Regions from separate parts of the Homo sapiens genome. Here regions 1, 2, 4, 5 and 6 are each linked to region 3. The links are contacts of gene promoters, found by promoter capture Hi-C in blood cells and fetal thymus (Javierre and others, 2016). All regions are on one chromosome and are shown on one strand. Each heading gives the region's core, a stretch centred on a gene start or on the middle of the fragment in contact. The rest is flanking DNA. Distances are from core to core; before and after follow the strand shown.

Region 1 (2,700 bases), core at 55-2,554, 110 kb before region 3:
ATATATAAGTCCTCTGTATGCCTAAAATGGAGAGCTTATCAGTAATATTCATCCCAAATGGCAAATAATCCTAAAAATCATTGCTGTTTCTCAACTTACGAGGGTTGGTACTGCAATTTCTCCTAAAGTTAACCCTAGCATGCAGTCAATCTTCAACAAGTATTTATTGAATGTTAAATAAATGAAAGCTTCATTTCATTCAAGTGTCATTTGCAGTTATTCTAACTCTTTTATCCATCTACACCTGCTTGACAGAGGACCAGTCGGTTATGCCAGAAAGCTCTCTAGACTGGGAGCCAGTACATCTGGGTTCTGGTCTTGGCTCTGACAGTAACTCTCTATGTGACCCTAAGTTACAGTATTTAATTTGAGGGAGAAAGAGAGAGAGAGAGAGAAGCATAGACTACATGATCAATATGTTCCTTTAAGCTATGTCGTTCAACAGAATCTGTGTTTTATGACGAATAATCATCATGTCTCGTATTTGGGCAGAAAACCCCAACCCTTTTAACCAAGTTGGAACAGCTAAACAGCTGGAGATGGGCAGGGGCTGGCAGAAAAAGCAGTGAGAAGGCAAGTGGGGGAGTGAAGAAAGTGAAGGGCTTGGAATGTCAGGGAGGTAATTCTACTCTAGATTCTAAAGTTGTAAAGCCACTTCTAAATCAAGGGCCCCTTCATTTCCTGGCCCGTGGTGAAGTGTGAGCTCTAAGTTCTAATTTATTAATCAATCAGAAAACCCCTTAATGCCTGAAGAAAAATAGACAAAAGATTAGGACAGACAATTTACAGAAGAAATACAAATGGTAATAAACATAAGGCAGAGGAGAGGTGCAGAAAGTGTTTAACTTCACTATTAATCAAATAAATATAAACTAACACTGAGATATAAGTTTACAACTATCAAATTACCATAGGTTTAGGTCGGGCACGGTGGCTCACGCCTGTAATCCCAGCACTTTGGGAGGCCGAGGCGGGCAGATCACTTGAAGTCAGGAGTTGGAGACCAGCCTGGCTGACATGGCAAAACCCCGTCTCCAATAAAAATATAAAAATTAGCCAGGTGTGGTGGCGCACACCTGTAGTCCCAGCTAATGAGGAGGCTGAGGCAGGAGAATCACTTGAACCCGGGAGGGAGAGAATGCAGTGAGCCAAGATCGTGCCACTGCACTCCAGCCTGGATGACAAAGCGAGACTCTGTCTCAAAAAAGCTAAAATAAAAATTCGAAAGGTTTAAATGACATGGGTTGATTAGAGTCTTCTCTGATACACTGCTGGCAAAACAAACAGGGACGGCCTTTCAATAAAGCAATTTGGCCACATTTATCAAGAGCCTTTAAAAGAGCATTCCCTTTGACTCAATAATTCCACTTCTAGGAATCTATCCTAAAGAAATACTCACAGACACACCCATATTTAAGGAAGTTCATCACAGCATTATTTGTAATAATGAAAAATTAGAAACTCTTAAATGCCTGACATGTACACATTACAAAGTCATTAAGAAGTATTTTTGAGCCAGGCGCGGTGGCTCACGCCTGTAATCCCAGCACTTTGGGAGTCCGAGGCAGGTGGATCATGAGGTCAGGAGATCGAGACCATCCTGGCTAACACAGTGAAACCCCATCTCTACTAAAAATACAAAAAATTAGCCGGGCGTGGTGGCAGGCGCCTGTAGTCCCAGCTACTCGGGAGGCTGAGGCAGGAGAATGGCATAAACCCGGGAGGCGGAGCTTGCGGTGAGCCGAGATCGCACCACTGCACTCCAGCCTGGGCGACAGAGCAAGACTCCGTCTCCAAAAAAAAAAAAAAAGAAGTATTTTCGGCTCGGAGTAGTGGCTCATGCCTGTAATCCCAACACTTTGGGATGCCGAGGCAAGTGGATTGCTTGAAGTGCGGAGTTTGAGACCAGCCTGGCAAAATGGCGAAACCCAGTCTCTACAAAAAAATACAAAAAATTAGCCAACTTTGGTGGCATGTGCCTGTAGACCCAGCTACTTGGGAGGCTGAGGCAGGAGGACTGCTTGAGCCTGGGAGGCGGATGTTGCAGTGGGCTGAAATCACGCCACTGCACTTCAGCATGGGTGACAGAGTGAAACCCTGTCTCCAAAAAAAAAAAAAAAAGTATTTTCAAATAATTTCTAATGATATGGAAAATACTAAGTTAAAAAAGCAGGTTTACAAAACTACATTTATAGTCTAATTCCAGTTATGTTTAAAAAAAACATGTGCACAGAAAAAAAGACTACCAAGAAATGCACCAAAACATTAATTAATGGTGATTATTACATCTTGGTGATGAGGTTATGGGTGATTTTTTCAAATCTTACTATTCTGTACTTCTCCAATTTTCAAAAATGAGCTTTAAATTTTTAAAAAAGCACATTAAGGGTGTGAGGGGAGGAGGATGTTTATTTTCTCTCCAAGCTTTCCAAATATTAAGGGTTAGAAAGGGACCCTTGAGATAATCTAGTCCAGTGGTCCTCAAAACTAGCAGCCCTAGCACTCCCTTGGTATATGTCATATTTTGAATGCATCTTTTGCCACCCTGAAATGAACTTTATAGTTAATATGACCTGCTTATGTACATAATTTCAAGAATAGTAATATAATATACTAATTAGACTATAAAATCACTGTGCAAGCAATCTCTATAAATGAAGACTCATACAAGTATGTTATATTGGCAACTTAAATACCCAT
Region 2 (2,700 bases), core at 200-2,699, 110 kb after region 3:
TGCTGTCCCCTCCCTAGGTCACATTTTCCATATACGGTGTCTCAGCATGGGGAGAGGCTGGCTTGTAGTTTGTAGGATGTGGGAAATGATTCTGTCCCTGGGGTAGGGAAGCCATTGTCCCAGATGAGATCGGAAAGCGGAAGAAGGTATTGGTGAGGGAAATCAATGAATAACAGGCTCTTCCTTGAATAACCATTCTTCCTTTTCCTTTACTGAGAGAACACTGGCCTTGAGAACTTAGGGATGGGGAGAGCAGGGGCCTCTGACGGGGTTGTTCCTTTCACCACTGGTTGGGGGGCCTGCTTAGGATTTGCTGGGAGCCTTGTGGGGTCAGAGCCAATTTGGCTTCTGTGCTAATCAGTTTCCTACCCGCTCGAATGCTTGAGGCAGCAGCTTTGGGTTTTGGCCCACTGGGGATTGGATGGGCAAGGCAGGTTGGGTGTCTGGGTGTTGGTCTTGACAGGCTATGGATGGTGGCAGAGTTCTAGGCAAAAAGGTGGGCCAGGAGCACTTGATGAGAATCCCCTGGTCCCCCAGAAGGGACCAGAGGCTACTGGTGATCCAAGGAGAATCTTGAAACATTTGAGGATAGGGTTTATTAAAAATCTAGAACAACTTGAAGTTCTGTTAGCAAGCTTTCAAGTTGGATGTTCATGTACACTAAGGGACAAAATTTCTGGCTAGAGCACTGTGAATTTGGCTGTGGCACAAGTTTATGGTCTTTTTTGGACCATAGACCATTTTGAAAAGCTGGTGAGAGCTATGGACCCTGTTCCCAGAAATGTGACCTCAGAATTTTGCCAATAATTTTAGGGGGTTCATGGACCTGACCTCTGCCCCATCGCCCAAAGCTCACCCAGGGACTGCAGGTTAAGAACCCCTGGGATAGGTGTTTGGGTGGATTTTAACTCACAAACCTCACAACCACCCTGGTATGTCAGAGACACGTGAAGTAGGAACGTGGGTCATGACGCAGTAGAGCATATAACGTTTGGCAGGTAATTGCCATCTGCGCTCGGTGGTAATAAGAATAATAATTCATGTCGTTAGAGTTGTGTTTTTACATTTGTTATCTAATCGTTACAGTAACCATATGAGGTGAATGCTACACCAATCTACAGGTGAGAAAATAAATGAAACAGAGGCTCAGAGAGGATACATTACCCAGTTACACAGCTACTAACTTGCAGAGCTAGAACTCAGACTCTGGTCTCTGGTTCCAAAGTCCATGTTCTTCTTCAGCTATACCATATTATCTTCCACTCTCTTTTTGTTTTTTTTTTTTTGAGTCAGGGTCTTGCTCTGTCACCCGGGCTGGAGTGCAGTGGCTCGATCACAGCTCATTGCAGCCTTCACCTTCTGGGCTCAAGCAGTCTCCCACTTTAGCCTCCCAAGTAGCTGGGACCACAGGTGTGTACCACTACACCTGGCTAATTATTTTTTGTAGAGACGAGGTCTCACTATGTTGGCTAAGCTGGTCTCGGACTCCTGGGCTGAAGCGATCCTCCTGCTTCAGCCTCCCAAAGTGCTGGGATTACAGGCGTGAGCCACCTCACCTGGCCATCTTCTACTCTCCGCCCATGGAACTGTTTCACTGAATGTTTTGCAAGTTTTTGTTGCATGGCTACTGTATGCCAGTCCTTCCCAGGCAATGGGAATACCTCTTCAGGAGGGTGGTATCATAGATTGATGAGGAGTATGCTCCCTGGAGCCAGACACGGAGCCTGGGTTTGAATTTTGGCCCCACCTCTTCCTAGCTGTGTGCTATTAGTCAAGCTACTTAATCTCTATGGCCTTCAGTTTCTTAATCTATACACAAGACAATAATAGTATCTACTCATAGAGTTGTGAAGATTAAATGAGATGATGATATAAAATGTCCACAATAGGCAAATCCATGGAGACAGAAAGTAGACTAGTGGTTGCCTAGGGTTGGGGAGGATGGAAGAGTTGGGGAGTGACTGTTTAATGGGTATTGGGTTTCCATTCAGGGTGATGAAAAAGTTCTGGAGCTAGATAAGTAGGGATGGTTACATAGCTCTATGACTATACTAAAAACAATTGAATTTTACACTTAAGTGAATTGCATGGTATGTCTTAATAAATTGTATCTCAGTAAAGCTGTCATTTTAAAAAAGATTAAAGAACGTGATATACATAAGTGTGTACAGTAGTATCTGGCACATAGTAGGTGTTCAGTTAGTGTTAGTGGTTGCTGTTATTGTTAGCATTACAAACAAAATAGATGTGGCCCCGCCTCTCATGAAGCTTATGTCTCTCAGATGACTCAGTGACAGGTGGGCACTGCCCTATCCTATATTAGATGAACAGTTCAGTGGGCCCACTATCAAATGCAGAGGGCAGAAATTAAAATGACAAGATCAGGGGCCTGGAAGCAGCTCTTTGCAACTGCCTGTAAGGATTTAGTAAATGTCTATTTTTTGGGAGTGCAAATCACTTCGTTCCTTCTTTTTTTTTACATGCCACCTTCCTGAGAAGGAAACTGTTGATCAGCAAACTAAGATCAGGGGTTTGTTTGAAATAGCCCCTTTCAGGGCTTGGCCAAGAGTGAAAATAGTCTCCTGTTGCCAATACCACCTGCCCAAGGCCTCTCAGGATCCTAAAGGGCCTTCTGCATCACCAGCAAAGAGAGAGAGTTCTGCTTCATTTGGTGCTGGATGTATTTTATTGTCCTCTCAT
Region 3 (2,700 bases), core at 53-2,552:
GGGCCGGGCGCCGTGGCTCACGCCTGTAATCCTAGCACTTTGGGAGGCCGAGACGGGTGGATCATGAGGTCACGAGATCGAGACCATCCTGGCTAACACGGTGAAACCCCGTCTCTACTTAAAAAAAAAAAAAAAATTAGCCGGGTGTGGTGGCAGGCGCCTGTAGTCCCAGCTACTCAGGAAGCTGAGGCAGGTGAATGGTGTGAACCCGGGAGGCGGAGCTTGCAGTGAGCTGAGATCGCACCACTGCATTCCAGCGTGGGCGACGGAGTGAGACTCCGTCTCAAAAAAAAAAAATGAAAAGAATGTTCTTGTCTATTATTTTTCTACAATCATTAATTAATATATATATATATTAGGCCGGGCCCGGTGGCTCACACCTGTAATCTCAGCACTTTGGGAGGCCGAGGCGGGCAGATCACTTGAGGCCAGGAATTCTAGACCAGCCTGGCCAACGTGGCAAAACCCCGTCTCTACTAAAAATGCAAATATTAGCCGAGCATGGTGGCGGGTGCCTGTAATCCTAGCGACTCGGGAGGCTGAGGCAGGAGAATCGCTTGAACCCGGGAGGTGGAGGTTGCAGTGAGCTGAGATCACGCCATTGCACTCCAGCCTGAACGACACAGCAAGGCTCTGTCTCAAAAATAAATAAATAAAATTCTTAAAAGTTGATGGGAGAAAAAAAGTTGTTTAAAAAAATTTTTTTAAGTTGATGGGAGGTGAGGAAGCGTAGTTACTGATGGCCCCTTCTTGGATAAAAAAAATCTTTTGACTCAGGAAATGAAGAACAAAGCTGCAATTACAAGGGATCAAAGGCGATTTTTCCTTAAATGGAAGGAAACTTGTTATGTTCACCATCGGATCTCCGGGGCCCGGCACAATCTGGCCACTTAATAGGCATTCAATAAACCCCCGAGCTGGCTTGTGGTCGGCTTGCAGGACGCCGTCGCACAAGGACGGGCGCTGTAGTCTTTCCTTCTGGATTCTGCAGTGACGAATGAAGGCGCGGGCTCAGCCCCTGAGAGCGCAGCACCGTCGCCCTAAGCTAACCCACCTTGGGCCACGTGGAAACCAGGGGCCAGGAGGACAGACACCCGCGCGCCAGAGAAATACGGGGTGGGTGGAGAAAGGAATGCCCCACCCGCTGACAGCCGTTTCATCTCAGGCCTCCCAGTTTTCTGCAGGCCCCTCCCTACACGGCTCCTGCTTCTCTCACGCCTCGTACGGAACGGAAGTGACGTGTACGTCGCGAGCGATTGACGGAAACAGAAATTGCTTTGCGGCCCGCACGGAAATTGCTTTCCTTCGGCTTCCGTTCTTGGTCCATGTGAGAGAAGCTGGCTGCTGAAATGACTGCGAACCGGCTTGCAGAGAGGTGAAGGGCAACGAGGGGAGGGGGGATTCTGGGTCTCGTTGGGGGCCGGGTTCCCCAGCTTTTGGGAAATGGGAGCCCCCCCTTTAACAGATGGCAGTGGTTCCCCTGAAGAGCTGGCCATTCGTTCCTATTTTCCGCGATCCAGCCTTTAAAGCCCTTTTAATTTAATTTCATTCGCTTACTCCGCTCCTCAGCTGTATAGCCGCATCCCTGTTGGTCCTGATGCTGTTTCTGCCTCCCCAGCTCATTTACTGTGTTTCACATTTTTCGTCACGTGGCCCCTTTTTCTGCCTCTGTCGCGGCCCGATTTAATCCTCTGCGCAGGCAGTGCAGGCGTTATAAACTCCCCGAATCTTGGAAAGCTTTGCTGATTGGAGTCATCCACCACGTTTTGGCTCCTGTGATGTTTTGTGCCCCCCCCACCCCGCCCCCGGAACTAAATGTAGTCCGTTTAGTAATGTTGGCTTTGCAAATACTAATAATATATGCTGTTAGGTAATGGTACATTTTATAATTTGTTTGTGGGTACCAATCTCCTTAGTTAAGCACCTACTTTACTAAGCAAGCCCCAGGGAAAGTGGCTTACCCAGCTGCTTTCGACCTGTTTCTCCATTCCTGGGAACAAGGATCAAGATAACACTTTTGATTAGGCTGCCTATCAATGAGTCAAATATATGGAGGATGCTTAGAAATATTAATCGTGAAACTGCCTTGCCTCCAGGGCTAGCTAGCAACAGCGTCTTTGGCCATATTATTCTAGGGTCTGACATTTTTACAGCTTCCCATAGGTCATAGGAAATGTTGTGCCAATCCCTGAAAAGTGATAGCTCTTTTACATGCAGTTTTGAAGTCAGGCATCACTCTTGGAGGTGATGCCTGACTTCAGTCTAAATTTCACATCTTGACAAGTTTCCAAAGGCATTCACGCTGCTTTATATATCTTCTGAGGGATAGGGCTATTCTGTGCTGAAATTACAATGTTTTCGAGATTGTTTTAATAGATTAGACATTGCTTCAAATAATAATATTTCTTTTTTTAATTTCGACTTTTATTATAATTAAGGGATACATATGCAGGTTTGTTACATGGGTATATTGCATTCACATTTCTCTGTTGCCTCTTTTAACAGCCTTCTGGCTTTGAGCCAACAGGAAGAACTAGCGGATTTGCCAAAAGACTACCTCTTGAGTGAGAGTGAAGATGAGGTGGGTGACAATTGCTAAACTGCCTTCAAAATTAGGGTAGAGAGCACATTCCTGGAATGGAAGGGTGTGACAATGTTCTATGTATTTGTTCAGGTCTCTCAAATAAATTGCAAATGGTT
Region 4 (2,700 bases), core at 141-2,640, 120 kb before region 3:
TGCTCCTACTCTACCACATCCCCACTTTCTCCATGGCTCCCTTCCTACAGCACACCTCTAGTATGACCCCCACACCCTGCCAGCATGCACTTTGTATTTTCAGTGGCTCCTCACTGCCCACAGGATACATGCCCTTGGCCTGGCGGGCAAGAGCCTTCCATAGCCTTTTCTACTCCCCCACCCACCATCCCATCATCAGGCTCTCAACGTCTCTAACTTTCATTCTTGTTCAAACCCTTCCGAGCTCCACCTGGAGAAATCCTGCCTCCCCTGCATGGCCCAGCTCAGATATACCTCCTCCACAAAGCCCCGCCAGAGCCCTTCCCCCTCTGCACTCCCACCTGCTTTCCTAGGAGCTCTGTTCAAAAACCACCTGCATGCCATCACCACTACACTCAATCCACTGCTAACTTCTACACTGGTGGGGCGGGGCAACAGCATGAGCTCTGAGGTAGCACGAGCACAGCAACATACTTGGGTTTCCAGAGTCATAGACCTGGGTTTGGAGGCTTGCTCTTCCTAAGACCAGCTGCGCCACCCTGCCTAGGGCACTTCATTTCGCATCTTGGTCTCCTCTGCTTCGAGGTGCGAATATGATGCGGGGCTGCGATGAGGCTGGAGTGAGCTGGCACACAGGAAGTGCTTGGCAGGACACGGGCATGCGGGAGGAGTTTAGACCCTCATTGCTGGATTCTCACACACACAGAGGTAGGGCCTAGAGCTCACAGGGTGCTCAGTATATGCCTGATACCCTGAAGGAGCAGAGGGGGTAGCTCAGGAGACCACTGGGGAAAGCCAAGTTTGCTCAGGAAGTAAGGGAAGAGGATGCTGGCTGGGGCAGTGTGGACCTCTGAGAGATTGATCAGGGCATGGTTTCTGCATGGATGCTGCCTTTTAAGCTGGAATTGAAAAATCTTTCCATAGAAGTATAATATCCATACAGAGAAGTGGATAAATCATAATTGCGCCACCGAATGAGTTTCTATAATGTGAACATCCCCATGTAGACAGCACTTAGATCAAGAAACAACACTCTCAGAAGTCTAGAAGCTTCCCTCATGCCCCTGCCAGTTACTACACCCCCCCCTTCCCCCAGGGCAACCGCTATCCTGACTTCCAACAGCACAGGTGAGCTCTGCCAGGCTTTGAACTTACAGGGGGAACCATATCGTGTATATATACTCTTTGGTGGCCAGCCCCTTTACTCAACCATATGTTTGTGACACTCATCCATACTGTTGGGAACAGTTGTACTGTCTCCTACCTGGGTACTATTCTTTTGTGTGACTCTGCCACAATTAATTTATCCATTCTACAGATGATGGGCATTTGCGGGTTTTCCACTTAAATTGGAAGGGTGAGAAACTACGGCTGACAGAGAGAAGGGCAGAGTATTCCAGGTGGGGAAATGCCCAGGGTAAGAGGCTGGAGGTGGGGTGTAGGAAAGAGTAAGCATAAACCTACATTCCACAAGGGACTGCCGTGTCAGACAATGTTCCAAGCACTGTAGGCGTACTCGCTCATTTCATCCTCACAACAGCCAGATGAGGTCGGTGCTTTTGTCTTCATTCCACTAATGAGGAAACAGAAACCTAGAGAAGTTAAGAAACATACCCAGTTTACACAATCAGTGGCAGAACCAAGATGGGAACACTTGCCCTGATGTGAAGTGGGCTTCAGAGAGGTTCGATAACTTGCCGGAGGTCACAAATCCAGAGTTGAACTTCTGAGAAAGCTTCCCTCATGCCCCTGCCTGTCACTACATGCCCCCTTTCTCCCACAGTAACCACTATCCTGACTTACAATAGCATAGGTGAGTTCTGCCAGGCTTTGAACTATAATTATACAGGGGGAACCATATGGTGTATATATACTCTTTGGTGGCCCTACATTTCAAATGTATTGTATATTACATTTGAAATATATATTGAAATATATATTGTTGAGTATACTCAATGTATATTTCAAATGTAATATACAATACAATACATATATACAATACAATACATATATACTCAACAATATATATTTCAATATATATTTCAAATGTAATATACAATACATATATACTCAACAATATATTTAGTATATTTCAAATGTAATATACATTTGAAATGTAGCTCTTTCCAAGAGGCCCACACATTCCCCTGAGCCATGAAGTGAAAAGGGGGCCAACAGTGTATGGTACCACCTCCCCCGTCAGGCACGACTCCCAGGAAGTCCTCACTCCAAAGGGAAGCCAGCAGAAAAGCCAGCCAGGCTCAAGAATTTCAACTCAACCCTGAATGGGGGTCACCTCTCTCTGAAAGGCGGTCAAGATACTTGGGGCTGTCCCTGAGGTTGGAGGTAGGCTTGGCAAAATGCCACCCTGGAGGGCCCTGAAACTCGATCACCCAAAGAACATGTGTTTGTCCTTTCCATCTCCCTGGGCTGAGAGTAGCCAACTGGGCCCAAGACCCAGCACCATCTCTATAGTCCTTTGTGATTATCTCCTCCCACTTTGGACTAAAACTGAGACAGAGGGACCCTCGCACAAGGGTCTGGGAGCCAAAGGCCTTTCCTCCCAGCCCCCAGACTGCAGATTAATGACAGGAAAAGGCCTTGGGAAAGAGCTGCAATTAGAGGGCAGGCAGGCAGTGAATTTACTCTTCCCCAACAAAGCCGACTTCCGGCCCCATGCCTGCCCTCCTGCTTGCTTTC
Region 5 (2,726 bases), core at 184-2,683, 86 kb after region 3:
CACTGCTCAATAGTTCAGGACAGGAACTGAGGAGTGTATATCCAGTTGAAACTCTAGGGAACATTTCGGGCCATGGGTGACATTTTTAAAAACCATTGCTTTCTGAAAAGGGCTGTTGTGTTTATTTAATTAATTAATTTATTTGTTTATTTATTGATTGATTTATTTGAAACCGAGCCTCACTCTGTTGCCCAGGTTAGAGTGCAGTGGCGTGATCTCGGCTTACTGCAACCTCCGCCTCCTGGGTTCAAGCGATTCTTCTGCCTCAGCCTCCCGTGTAGCTGGGACTATAGGTGTGAGCCACCATGCCTGGCTAATTTTTGTATTTATATTATTTATTTATTTTTTGAGATAGAGTTTCGTTCTTGTTGCCCAGGCTGGAGTGCAGTGATGCAATCTTGGCTCACTGCAACCTCCTTCTCCTTGTTTCAAGTGATTCTCCTGCCTCAGCCTTCTGAGTAGCTGGGATTATAGGCACCCACCACCACGCCTGGCTGATTTTTGTATTTTTTCTAGTAGAGATGGGGTTTTGCCATGTTGGCCTGGCTGGTCTCGAACTCCTGACCTCAAGTGATCCGGCTGCCTTGGCCTCCCAAAGTGTTGGGATTACAGGTGTGAGCCACTGCGCCTAGTCTATTTATTTATTTTTGAGACAGGGTCTGGCTCTGTTGCCTCAGCCTCCTGAGTAGCTGGGACAGGCCACCATGCCCGGACAATTGTTTTTATTTTTATTTTTAGTAGAGGCAGGGTCTCCCTGTGTTGCCCAGGCTGTTCTTAAACTCCTGAGCTCCAGCATTCCTCCTGTCTTAACTTCCCAAAGTGCTGGGATTACAGGTGTGAGCCACTGTGCCCGGCAGAAAATATTCTTTTTTTTTTTTTTTTTTTTTTTTGAGACAGAGTCTTGCTCTGCTGCCCAGGCTGGAGTGCAGTGGTGCGATCTCGGCTCACTGCAACCTCCATCTCCCGGGTTCAAGCAATTCTCCTGCCTCAGCCTCCTGAGTAGCTGGGATTGCAGGCGCCCGCCACCATGCCCAGCTAATTTTTTTTTTTTTGTATTTTTAGTAGAGACGGGGTTTCACCATGTTGGTCAGGTTGGTCTCGAACCCCTGACCTCGTGATCCATCCACCTCGGCCTCCCAAAGTGCTGGGATTACAGGCGTGAGCCACCGTGCCTGGCGCTTTTTATTTTTATTTTTGTTTCTGAGATGGAGTCTTGCTCTATTGCCCACGCTGAAGTAGAGTGGTGCAAACTCAGCTCACTGCAGCTTCGACCTCCCGAGCTCAAGTGATCTTCCCACTTCATCCTCCCAAGTAGCTAGGACCACAGGCCCATACCACCAGGCACAGCTGATTTTTAAAATAATTTTTGGGCCAGGCACAGTCGTCACGCCTATAATCCCACCACTTTGGGAGGCCGAGGCTAGCAGATCACTTGAGCCTAGGAGTTCAAGACCAGCCTGGGCAATGTAGCGAGACCCTGTCTCTACAAAATAATACAAAAATTACCTGGGCTTGGTGGCGCCAGGTGTGGTGGCATGTGTCTATAGTCCCAGCTACTTGGGAAGCTGAGGTGGGAGGGCCACTTGAGCCCGGGAGTGCCGCTACAGTGAGCTGTGATTGTGCCAGTGCACTTCAGCCCAGGTGACAGAGTTGAGACCCAGTCTTAAAATAACAACAACAAACTCTTTGAGCTAATACTGTTTAATGAAAGCTGTATAGATACACCTTTGAATGAATAATATATATAAAATTAGTTGAACCCATAGCTGAGTCTGTTCTGTTGTGAGAAAATAGAAAGAATAACCTGATAATGGTCTCTCCAAATATTTGTGTTATGTAGTCCAGGAGACTTTTATAAAAGCAAAAGTTGGGTGAGGAAGAATTGTCTTTTTTAAAACCATATATATATATTTAGAGACCGGGTTATGAGACTGGCTAATTTTTGTATTTTTTGTAGAGACGGGGTTTCACCATGTTGCCAAGGCTGGTCTGGAACTCCTGGGCTTAAGTGATCTGTCTGCCTCGGCCTCTCAGTGTTGGGATTACAGGTGTGAGCCAGTGCGCCCAGCTAGGAATTGTCTTTAGGTGAAAAATTGCGTATCATGAATATAGTATACTGAAATGGAGACACCAGAGGGCCACTGTCACAGTCTATGGCAGGCAGGACCCAGAAGCATCTCAAAAGGGATTCAGAATGTCTCATATTACAATGATTCAAGTTTAGAGTGTGAAAAACACACTAAATATTTATATGGTCCTGCTGAAGACCAAGATTGAGGGAAGCCAATTTGTGTTTTTGTTCTAGCGGAAATTAGAAGTACTCAAAAAATGACCCTAGATATTTAGGGTGACATTTTGAGGTTGCTTTGCCTTTTGAAAGGACTGATTAATTTCACAATGATCACTTAAGTTTTGCGTGACATCTAGAAGTTGTATAAAATCTTGTAGCTAGAGCCGAGGTTTATTATAAAGCTATGATGAGGTGTTTTTGTTAAATGGAGTAAAGTAATTTTCTTACAGCAGGAAATGGAAGTGAGTACTGTTTGAATAATAAGAAAAAAGTATCATAGCAATGGGTAGAAAGCAAAAAGAATCTGGCGGTATGAAAATGTAAGTGAGGCCAGGCACGCTGGCTCACGCCTATAATCTCAGCACTTTGGGAGGCAAAGGCAGGAGGACTGCTTGAGGCCAGGAGTTTGAGACCAGCCTAGGCAACATAGGGAGAC
Region 6 (2,708 bases), core at 125-2,624, 69 kb after region 3:
TCCCAAAAATACATCTCTTTTTCTTTATGTTCAGGTTGTGGGTTTTATTCCTAGGCTTAAATGAAGCAGGCGCTCTCAAGTTCTGAACTTTAAAAATTCCTTATTTTTTTAAACTACTATGGAGCATCTACTGGGTGCCAGGCACTGTTCTAAGTGCTTAACATACAAGAACTCATGTGATCTTTATAACGTTTGCTTCTTCTTCTTCTTTTTTATATACAGAGATGAGTTTCACCATATTGCCCAGGCTGATCTTGAACTCCTGACTTCAACTGTTCCCCCCGCCTTGGCCACACAAAGCATTGGGATTACGGGCTTCAGCCACCGCGCCTGGCCCTTATAACGTTTTCAGGAGGTACTTATTAGCCCCCATTTCACAAATGAGGGAATTGAGGCTCAGAGAAAAGTATGCAAGGCAATAGCGCTAGGAAGTGGTGGAGCCAGTATTCAAACCATGTCTGTCTAACTTCAGAGATTGTGTGCTTAATCACTGAGTGGGAAGAGAAAGACTAAAAGAGACCCAGACTTTAAAATGAGTCTTTGGCAAGAAGGGAAGTCAAGTCTGGGCCTCAGCTTCTCCACTGTAAAACAAGTCCTACTATGTGCCAAGGTGGGAGGTCTTGGGGGGAGATGAAGGAGGCTGTGATACACAGATGAGAAATACTGAGTCCTTTTATCCAAGGAACTTAAAATCTAGTCGGAGAGATAGACAGGCAGAGTGTGGAAGTGCTAACTAAAGGGACAAGCTAAAAACTGTGGGGGTGCCCCAGAGGAGCAGCCAACTTCCATAGGGAGGGTGTGGGTGTCAGGGAAAGGGGCATGAGAGAATGGTCTTTTGTTTGTTTGTTTGTTGTTTGTTGTTTGAGACAGAGTCTTGCTCTGTCGCCCAGGCTGGAGTGCAGTGGCAAGATCTCAGCTCACTGCAGCCTCTGCCTCCCAGGTTCAAGCAATTCTCCTGCCTCAGCCTCCCAAGTAGCTGGGATTACAGGCGTGTGCCATTACACCTGGCTAAGTTTGGTATTTTAAGTAGAGACGGGGTTTTGCCATGTTGCCCAGGCTGGTCTCGAACTCCTGACCTCAAGTGACCCACCCACCTTGGTCTCCCAAAGTGCTGGGATTACAGGCGTGAGCCGCCACACCCAGATGAGAGAGCTGTCTTGAGTAACGGTTGAGTGAGATTTCAATAAGCTGAGAAAGACATATAAAAAGCTGTGGGAGGGGGCAGGTGGGAGGGGCCAGGTGCGATGGCTCACGCCTATAATCCCAGCACTTTGAGAAGCCAAGGTGGGTGGATCATGTGAAATCAGGAGTTCGAGACCAACCTGGCCAACATGGTGAAACCCTGTCTCTACTAAAAATACAAAAATTAGCTGGGTGTGGTGGCACGTGCCTGTAATCCCAGCTACTAGGGAGGCTGAGGCAGGAGAATCGCTTGAACCCAGGAGAAGGAGGTTGCAGTGAGCCAAGATCACGCCATTGCATTCCAGGCTGGGCGACAAGAGCAAAACTCCATCTCAAAAAAAAGCAAGCAAACAAACAAACAAAAAAACCTGTGGGAGGCCACTATGGTGGCTCACACCTGTAATCTCAGCACTTTAGGAGGCGAAGAGGGAAGGATCACTTGAGGCTAGGAGTTCAAGACCAGCCTGGGCAACACAACGAGAACTCAAGAACTCATTTGTGCAATTTTTTTTTTTGAACAAAGTTTTGCTCTCTTTGCCCAGGCTGGAGCACAATGGCGTGATCTTGGCTCACTGCAACCTCCACCTCCTGAGTTCAAGCGATTCTCCTGCCTCAGCCTCCTGAGTAGCTGGGATTACAGGCACCTGCCACCATGCCTGGCTAATATTTGTATATTTAGTAGAGATGGGGTTTCACCATGTTGACCAGGCTGGTCTTGAACTTCTGACCTCAGGTGATCCACCCGCCTTGGCCTCCCAATGTGCTGGGATTACAGGTGTGAGCCACCACGCCCAGCCTCATCTGTACAATTTTTTTAAGTGTTTAAAAAAAAAAAAAAGCTGAGGAAGCAGAGCTGACAAAATGGATGGCTTATCCAAGGAATGCCGAGGGGGCCAGTCAGGTCAGAAAAGAGGGCTTGTGAGAGACATGGAAGGAAAGGAGGCTAGAACTAGATCAGGGAGGGCCCTAAAGGCTAGGTGAAGGCTCATGGACTTGATTTTGTTGGCAGTGGCCAACCATAGCCAGTTTTTCAGGAGGGCAGATTTCTTAGAATCCCTTCCACTTCTAGCACTGCATGTTTGATTAAGAACTTTGTTGGCTGGGCGCGGTGGCTCACACACCTATAATCCCAGCATTTTGGAAGGCCAAGGCTGGAGGATCACTTGAGCCCAGGAGTTCCAGACCAGCCTAGGCAACATTGCAAGACCACGCCACCACCACCCCCTCTAATGTTAAAAAAAATAATAATTTTTAAGAAAGAACTTTGTTTAGAGCCTAGGAGTCTCAGGGAAGAGGAGAGTGGTCAGCAAGCTGAAGGGCTTGACCCGGTGAGGCCTCTGGGTTGATTTCAGCCCCTTTCCTCATTTTCACTCCTTTGGCTATAAAATCCAAAAAAGTTGTTGGTTGTTTACAGAGTTCAGTTTAACCGGACATGCTGTCTCCCCATCCACACCTGGGGCTCTAAGAGGGCAGAGACCAGGCCATTTGTTCTCTGGGAGCCAGCACTTAGTATCCAGTACTCTGTA

The links. Contacts are between HindIII fragments. The CHiCAGO score rates a contact against its expected background, and 5 or more counts as called.
Region 1: a contact is called between a fragment that was not itself captured here and the fragment with the promoter of UTP14A in region 3, in 2 of 17 cell types (activated CD4 T cells and M2 macrophages). The highest score is 6.4, in activated CD4 T cells.
Region 2: a contact is called between a fragment that was not itself captured here and the fragment with the promoter of UTP14A in region 3, in 12 of 17 cell types (activated CD4 T cells, neutrophils, monocytes and 9 more). The highest score is 8.6, in activated CD4 T cells.
Region 4: a contact is called between a fragment that was not itself captured here and the fragment with the promoter of UTP14A in region 3, in 1 of 17 cell types (activated CD4 T cells). The highest score is 5.3, in activated CD4 T cells.
Region 5: a fragment that was not itself captured here is called in contact with the fragment with the promoter of UTP14A in region 3 in 1 of 17 cell types (activated CD4 T cells); the score reaches 6.5 in activated CD4 T cells.
Region 6: a fragment that was not itself captured here is called in contact with the fragment with the promoter of UTP14A in region 3 in 1 of 17 cell types (activated CD4 T cells); the score reaches 6.2 in activated CD4 T cells.

Annotation. Positions count from the first base shown.
Region 1 is chrX:129,799,777-129,802,476 of GRCh38, forward strand. No RefSeq gene overlaps it. Among named protein-coding and RNA genes, the nearest start is that of SASH3, 21 kb to the left of the region's middle. The HindIII fragment of the contact is 2,236 bases long and covers 187-2,422 here.
Region 2 is chrX:130,016,374-130,019,073 of GRCh38, forward strand. The region is part of intron 4 of BCORL1 (BCL6 corepressor like 1); the gene reads left to right. Among named protein-coding and RNA genes, the nearest start is that of BCORL1, 35 kb to the left of the region's middle. The HindIII fragment of the contact is 1,633 bases long and covers 634-2,266 here.
Region 3 is chrX:129,904,862-129,907,561 of GRCh38, forward strand. UTP14A (UTP14A small subunit processome component) reads left to right here and starts at 1,303. Exons shown (of 15, transcript NM_006649.4): 1 at 1,303-1,375; 2 at 2,506-2,581. The coding sequence starts at 1,350. LOC105373335 (a long non-coding RNA gene) reads right to left here. Exons shown (of 3, transcript NR_188631.1): 3 at 2,403-2,700. The HindIII fragment of the contact is 20,573 bases long and covers 1-1,735 here.
Region 4 is chrX:129,783,014-129,785,713 of GRCh38, forward strand. All of the region lies in intron 1 of SASH3 (SAM and SH3 domain containing 3), which reads left to right. Among named protein-coding and RNA genes, the nearest start is that of SASH3, 4.4 kb to the left of the region's middle. RefSeq lists an enhancer at 2,391-2,480. The HindIII fragment of the contact is 685 bases long and covers 1,049-1,733 here.
Region 5 is chrX:129,990,786-129,993,511 of GRCh38, forward strand. The region is part of intron 1 of BCORL1 (BCL6 corepressor like 1); the gene reads left to right. Among named protein-coding and RNA genes, the nearest start is that of BCORL1, 9.5 kb to the left of the region's middle. The HindIII fragment of the contact is 3,001 bases long and covers 1-2,726 here.
Region 6 is chrX:129,973,770-129,976,477 of GRCh38, forward strand. No RefSeq gene overlaps it. Among named protein-coding and RNA genes, the nearest start is that of BCORL1, 7.5 kb to the right of the region's middle. The HindIII fragment of the contact is 3,364 bases long and covers 1-2,708 here.